2 separate regions of the Homo sapiens genome follow, and region 2 is linked to region 1. Evidence: promoter capture Hi-C in human tissues and cell types (Jung and others, 2019). All regions are on one chromosome and are shown on one strand. Each heading gives the region's core, a stretch centred on a gene start or on the middle of the fragment in contact. The rest is flanking DNA. Distances are from core to core; before and after follow the strand shown.

Region 1 (3,196 bases), core at 215-2,714:
GAGAATCACTGGAACCCGAGAGGCGAAGGTTGCGGTGAGCCGAGATTGTGCCACTGCACCCCAGCCTGGGCAACAGAGCGAGACTCTGTCTCAAAAAATAAAATAAAATAAAAATTTACGTTTGTAATGGTTAAATATGGAGTGGTTATAACTGTTTGGCTGTATATGTAAGGTAGGATTTCTTTCTGTTTTTCTTTTTTTCTTTTGAGACATGTTGTCGCTCTGTCGCCCAGGCTGGAATGCAGTGGCACGATCACAGATCACTGCAGCCTCAACCTCCCGCGCCCAAGCAATCCTCCCACCTCAGTCTCCCAAGTAGCCGGGACAACAGGTGCAGGCCACCATGCCTGGCTAATTTTCTTGTTGTTGTTGTTGTTTGAGACAAAGTGTCACTCTTTCGCCCAGGCTGGAGTACAGTGGTATGATCTCGGCTCGCTACAACCTCTGCCTCCTAAGTTCAAGTGATCCTCTTAGCTCAGCCTCCCAAGTAGCTGGGATTACAGGTGGGCGCCATCTCAAACAACAACAAAAAAATACACTTCCTTGATTAACTCCTTTCTTCGAATTCCCATTAGGACCTCTCTTCGGGCACTGACTGATGAACTTCTACCGCCTCATCTTCTCTGCTAGACTTAGAGTTCCTGAGAGCAGAATAAATGCGGCTTGATCAGTATTTGCCGATTCAACGCAGAGGTGCCCAGGTCATCTCGGCGAGTTGAGCTGTCTAAGACCCCGCGATCGCGCAGGACAGGACCCAGAAGCCAGAGCGCAGGAACTGCTTCCGGCCGGCTCCCGGCTTCCGTCGGGCCCCGCGCCCGCGCTGCATGCTGGGATCTTCAGGTCGGAGGCCGGGGTGAGGCCGACCCACAGGCCGCCTTGCTCCCTCGCGAAGACGCTTATGCCAGTCTCGCCCGTCCCCGCTCCTCCTCAGAGAAAATGCTGCCCCGCAGCACTTACCGGAGCGACCATGAGGGTGACGATTTGAAGCACACACAGGCTTCCCGCCACCTCCTTTAAACCGCCGCTGGCTTGCCAGGGACAGACGGCGCGGTTGGCTCCCCAAAATTCCGACTGATACGCGCCTCGGCGAGCGAAAGCAAACGCGGGATACTCTCGCGTTCCTGATTGGCTGGTTGTGGACACCTCAATTATGACAGAAAGGGGCCGGGCGGGAAAGTTAGCTGTGGCCGGCGGGGATTGGCAGAAGGAACCTGTACTTACTCGTTTTTCCCGGACGTTGGCTGGTGGAGAAGAGAGGGTGGGGAGATGGGGCGCTGGGGGGGGGCGGTGGCGACGCAACTCGTGATTGGCGGATGTGCGTTCCTTAGGTCTCTACGGATTGCGGTTGCTTGGCGTTGATTGGGCAGTCGCGGGAAAACTAAAGTGGGCGGGGGGCCTTTGGGCCCGCCCCGCCGCCGGGGCCTGCTGGCGGAAGGGGAAATGGGGTGGGTGGGGGGTGGGGCAGGCGACGGTGGGGAAGATGGCGTACCAGAGCTTGCGGCTGGAGTACCTGCAGATCCCACCGGTCAGCCGCGCCTACACCACTGCCTGCGTCCTCACCACCGCCGCCGTGGTGAGCAGCTGCAGTGCCACCTTCTCATTATCTGGGCTGGATATGACTGGGTCTTCAGGAAACTGGGGTTTGGGCCTCGGGGAGGCCCAGAGGGGCTGGTCCCGGGGATGGGTGGAGGCGTACAGGGATTACTCTGGGGTTCGAGTTGGCGCCAAGAATGCTTATCCAGTGACGCGAGAAGGGAGTGCTGCTTCATGGGGGGTCAGGTCAGTTTCTAAGAGATGAGCGCCGGACCTATAGCGGGTTAGGGTTGCGGGAGCCTCCCACCCAAGAAATGTGTCCGAGAGCTCTGCCAATGGCCAGGTGGTACCATGGTGACTAGTGAGAGGAAGGTCCGTTTAGTGAAGAAACAGGAATGGGGAAAGCAAGCTGGAAACTGTCGAGAGGGGAATGGCTTATAATAAAAAGGGTCTCTGGATCTAAATAAGGGGCTAGCTGGAGGTACCCAGCCCTAACGGTGGCAGGGTCTCCAGTCTCCGTTATTTCAAGTGAGTTTTGTTGTTTCATACAGCTGTTTCAGGTGGTGCCCATGTGGTGGGTAGATTCATAGCAGCTGTTTTTATTTGTCCTGTGTCTAAAATATCACCACCTGTCTGCCTCATTTCTTCATGTCAGCCTCAACTATTGCAACATAAAACAGACTTTTTTGTGTTAGGTATTGAGGATACAAAGAATTCTACCAATCCTAGAGAATTCTTTACCAACCTCTTCCTCTGGCCTAAGAAGAAAGGCTTAAAGGAAATCACGTCTAAGTGACCGAGAGTTGGAAATTGCTAGACCTACTAATTCTTTGTTGTAAATGATGAAATTTTGTTTCTTGATTTGCTTTAAGAAGCTCTTTTTCTATTTCAGCAGTTGGAATTGATCACACCTTTTCAGTTGTACTTCAATCCTGAATTAATCTTTAAACACTTTCAAGTAAGTGGTTCATCACAATAGTGATTAATGCTTCAGTTTCTTCTTTTTCTTACTGTTTAGTAGCAAATCCTGTTATACACTATCCTAAAAAAGAACCCAGTGGGGACCTTTGATTATAAGTTGCCTTGTCAGGATATAAAGCAGTGATTCTGCAGCCTGGTTGGACTTGAGAATCCCTTAGGGAACTTTGAAGAGATTCTCAAGCTCCTCAACAAGTACCAAATCAGAATTTGCAAGGGTAGGAATTAAAATCTGTGTTTTATTTTTAAAGTTCCCTGCATCGTTTTGATGTGTCCAGTTCCTGTATTTGGAAATCACTGGTTTAGACTTAACGTTGTCCTATGAGAGGAGGCTGACTAGCTAGCTGCTTAGGGGTTGTCTCACAGGGATGGCCTTATTTTGTCCATTCAGCACCTAGGCACACCCACCACCTTGGTGTTATCACCATGGTCCAGAAACTCAATTCTGTTAGTGCTTTTAAATTGTGATCTGTCTTCCAGGGATCAGATCATACTAACCAAATTCCAAACATCTAAAGCTATATGGTGGTTTATTAGATTACAATGGGAGATGGTCCTTTCCAGTGATTAAAATGCCAAAAGAGGCTGGGCACAGTGGCTCACGCCTGTAATCCCAGCACTTTGGGAGGCTGAGGCAGGCAGATCACCTGAGGTCAGGAGTTCAAGACCAGCCTGGCCAACATGG
Region 2 (3,363 bases), core at 864-3,363, 1.6 Mb before region 1:
AGAAGACAGTGGCTGATGGGAGGCTGGCAAAAGGGAGAGAGGGGAGATGGTTTGGAACGGTAACCTAGGTCTACCTTTGATTATTGTAAAAGACCTGTACAAATAGAGAAATGTAATTTTTCCCGTCTATAGGCAATGGAGAGCCATTGCCTATAGTCATGCTGTGTCTTTTATGTTTACAGTTTTGCTCCTTAAGAAGCTGTTTTTCTTGTCTTTACGTGCAGATTCTTTCCCAATAATTAGGAAACACTGCCATCATGTGGCTCAATGGATGCATGCTCCAAACTTAAGTTGCTGAATGTTCTATCATATTGTTTAATAATTAAACCAAAGAACACATCTCTGAATTCAAAGAGCTGAGGTAAAGAATGTCAACCTATCAAAAAAGGACATTTTCTATAAAGTTTTTCAAAAAATCAATACCTGGCTTCAATGACCTGATTTTTTACTTTGCTTTTAAAATTGTAACCTGGCCAGGCATGGTAGACTGTAATCCCAGCACTTTGGGAGTCCGAGGTGGAAGGATTGCTTAAGTCCAGGAGCTTGAGACCAGCCTGTGCAACATGCTGTGACCCCCTCTCTACAAAAAAAATGAACAAATTTAGCCAGGCATGGTGGTGTGGAGCCTGTAGTCCTCGCTACTCGGGAGGCTGAGGTGGAGTATTGCTTGAGCCTGGGAGGTGGAGGCTGCAGTGAGCCATAATGGCAGTACTACACTTCAGCCTGGACAAGACCCTGTCTCTATAAATAAATACACACACACATACATACATACATACATACATACATACATACATACATACATAATAAAAAATAAAATTCTAACCTAAGTGTTTAGAGATTCTGATCTCAAGAATCCTTTCTATTCCCAGTGACCCCTTATTTTAGACTCATAAGTTTTCTGTCCCTGCAATGGTTCCACCCTTTCCAGGGCAGTTTGCTTCAAGCTGTATCCAGGATCTTTCCCTTAACTGTGCCAGATTTTGTTTCAGTCCTGGGATTGTTCTCCTTGTAGGTCCACAGTTGGACAGACCTAAATTCAAATATCCATACCATTTTTTCCCTGAGAGCTTCAGTTACTGCATCTATAAAAGAGGCACGACATCGGCCAGGCGCGTTGGCTCACTCCTGTAATCCCAGCACTTTGGGAGGCCGAGGTGGGCGGATCATCTGAGGTCAGGAGTTCCAGACCAGCCTGGCCAACATGGCGAAACCCCATCTCTACTAAAAAATACAAAAATTAGCTGGGAGTGGTGGCAGGCGCCCGTAATCCCAGCTACTCAGGAGGCTGAGGCAGGAGAATGGCTTGAACTTAGGAGGCAGAGGTTGCAATGAGCCGAGATCTCGCCACTGTACTCCAGCCTGGGCTACAGAGTGAAACTCCATCTAAAAAAAAAAAAAAAGAAAAGCGACACCTTCTTCATAGGGTTATCATAAGATGAAGTGATAGCATGTGTAAACGGTGCCTGGTACACTGCAGGTCTTCACATTGAGGGAGTCGTGTTTCATCCCTCTGTCCTTGAGGACCTGTTATTTTATTTTATTTATTTTATTTTTGTTTATTTATTTATTTTTGAGACAGAGTCTTTCTCTGTCACCCAGGCTGGAGTGCAGTGGCATGATCTTGGCTCACTGCAACTTCTGCCTCCCGGGTTCAAGCGATTCCCCGCCTCAGCCTCCCAAGTAGCTGGGACTACAGGCGCCCGCCACCACACCCGGCTAATTTTTTTTGTATTTTTAGTAGATATGGTGTTTCGCCATGTTGGTCAGGCTGGCCTCGAACTCCTGACGTCAGGTGATTCACCCACATCGGCCTCCCAAAGTGCTGGGATTACAGGCTTGCACCGCGCCCGGCCTGGGGGTCTGTTATTCTAAGCACAGAGCTGGCACTTGGTGGAGGTCTGTGATCTGATTGATATCCGAGATTTACCTGGTCCTCGGCAACGTTCCTGAGAACAAAACTACTCATCCCCTCAGGTTTTGGGGACCATCCCTATTTCCACGCGTTGGCGGTGGACCCTGGGCTCGCTGGGGTTTGCAATCCACGTGTCTCCCCTGCGCGCAGCAGGCGGCAGGTGCATGCGTGTGAGTAGGGCAGGGCCCCTCTGCATTCATTTCTCGCCGCTCCCCCCTCCCCCGGGCCTGGGGGTTGTGTGTGTACATAATTCAATCCCCGTGGGACTGGCGTCTGGCCTCACGCGCGGCTTGCCGGATTGGCTGTTTCAGCTCGCCCCCGCCCTCCGTACACCCCGCGTCCCAGGTGGCTCAGGCCCCTGTGGTGATCTCTGTTTACCGAGAGAGCCCGTCCAAGTTGGGCTCCATCGCTGCCCTCGCTCCCCTTCGGGGCCCCCGCCCGCCTGGGAAGCAGAGAGAAAGCCGGGCCCAGCCCTTCCTCACCCTTCCCCTCCCCGCACCGCCCGGAGAGGTCGGGTAAGGGGGAAGGAGTGTGCGTGGGACGGGGAACCTCGGGCCTGGGGATCTGGCTGTCCCCGTCCCCGTACCTCGCGCGGACCCGGGAGTTCCAGCCCTAGGCCAGGCTCCGGCTCCCTCCGCCCCGCGCCATCGCGCTCGGAGTGACGGGCCCACCCCGGGCGAGCAGCCAGAGGCTGGATCTCAGGGATGCCAGCTCCCCAGCGGAAGCACAGGCGTGGAGGCTTCTCTCACAGATGTTTCCCCACCCCGCAGACGGCGATGACCCCCCAGCCCGCCGGACCCCCGGATGGGGGCTGGGGCTGGGTGGTGGCGGCCGCAGCCTTCGCGATAAACGGGCTGTCCTACGGGCTGCTGCGCTCGCTGGGCCTTGCCTTCCCTGACCTTGCCGAGCACTTTGACCGAAGCGCCCAGGACACTGCGTGGATCAGCGCCCTGGCCCTGGCCGTGCAGCAGGCAGCCAGTGAGGGGGGCCCTGAGGCGGGAGACAGGAACGGGGAGGAGGAGCCGTGAGTGGAGGGATGGGAGACCCACCTGATTACCCGACAACCTGAGAAAGGGCAACCGGCTCTAGAAAAGAGTGCATCTTGAGGTCAAGGAGAAGAACCATTAGTTCGAGGGAGGCAAACAGCCAATGAGAAGTGTTGGAGAGAGTTTGGGGGCCCGGGGGCGTGTCTTCCGTTGACTCCGCCCCCTTTCAGGCCCCGTGGGCAGCGCCCTGAGCACGCGCTGGGGGGCCCGCCCCGTGGTGATGGTTGGGGGCGTCCTCGCCTCGCTGGGCTTCGTCTTCTCGGCTTTCGCCAGCGATCTGCTGCATCTCTACCTCGGCCTGGGCCTCCTCGCTGGTGAGGGAAGTGGGATGCCCGGGTCATTCAGGGTGAAGGAGGTGACAGGAGCTTGTTGGGATCTGGGGTAGCGAACGAGGCGGGGGCC

Evidence for each region. The method cuts DNA at HindIII sites, captures the fragments that hold promoters and counts their contacts. A contact is called where the count stands out against the background at its distance.
Region 2: a contact is called between the fragment with the promoter of SLC16A11 here and the fragment with the promoter of DERL2 in region 1, in 1 of the 25 tissues and cell types used here (small bowel).

Annotation. Positions count from the first base shown.
Region 1 is chr17:5,484,446-5,487,641 of GRCh38, reverse strand. It overlaps DERL2 (derlin 2), which reads left to right and starts at 1,464. Exons shown (of 7, transcript NM_016041.5): 1 at 1,464-1,573; 2 at 2,426-2,491. The coding sequence starts at 1,481. It overlaps MIS12 (MIS12 kinetochore complex component), which reads right to left and starts at 1,076. Exons shown (of 3, transcript NM_001258217.2): 1 at 958-1,076. RefSeq lists enhancers at 457-566, 807-906, 1,527-1,586, 1,627-1,806 and silencers at 1,080-1,247, 1,197-1,356. The HindIII fragment of the contact is 19,817 bases long and covers 1-3,196 here.
Region 2 is chr17:7,042,842-7,046,204 of GRCh38, reverse strand. SLC16A11 (solute carrier family 16 member 11) reads left to right here and starts at 2,113. Exons shown (of 5, transcript NM_001370549.1): 1 at 2,113-2,430; 2 at 2,686-2,893; 3 at 3,132-3,275. The coding sequence starts at 2,692. LOC124903909 (a long non-coding RNA gene) reads right to left here and starts at 3,138. Exons shown (of 2, transcript XR_007065598.1): 1 at 2,965-3,138; 2 at 1-23. RefSeq lists silencers at 2,507-2,636, 2,707-2,766. The HindIII fragment of the contact is 14,065 bases long and covers 1-3,363 here.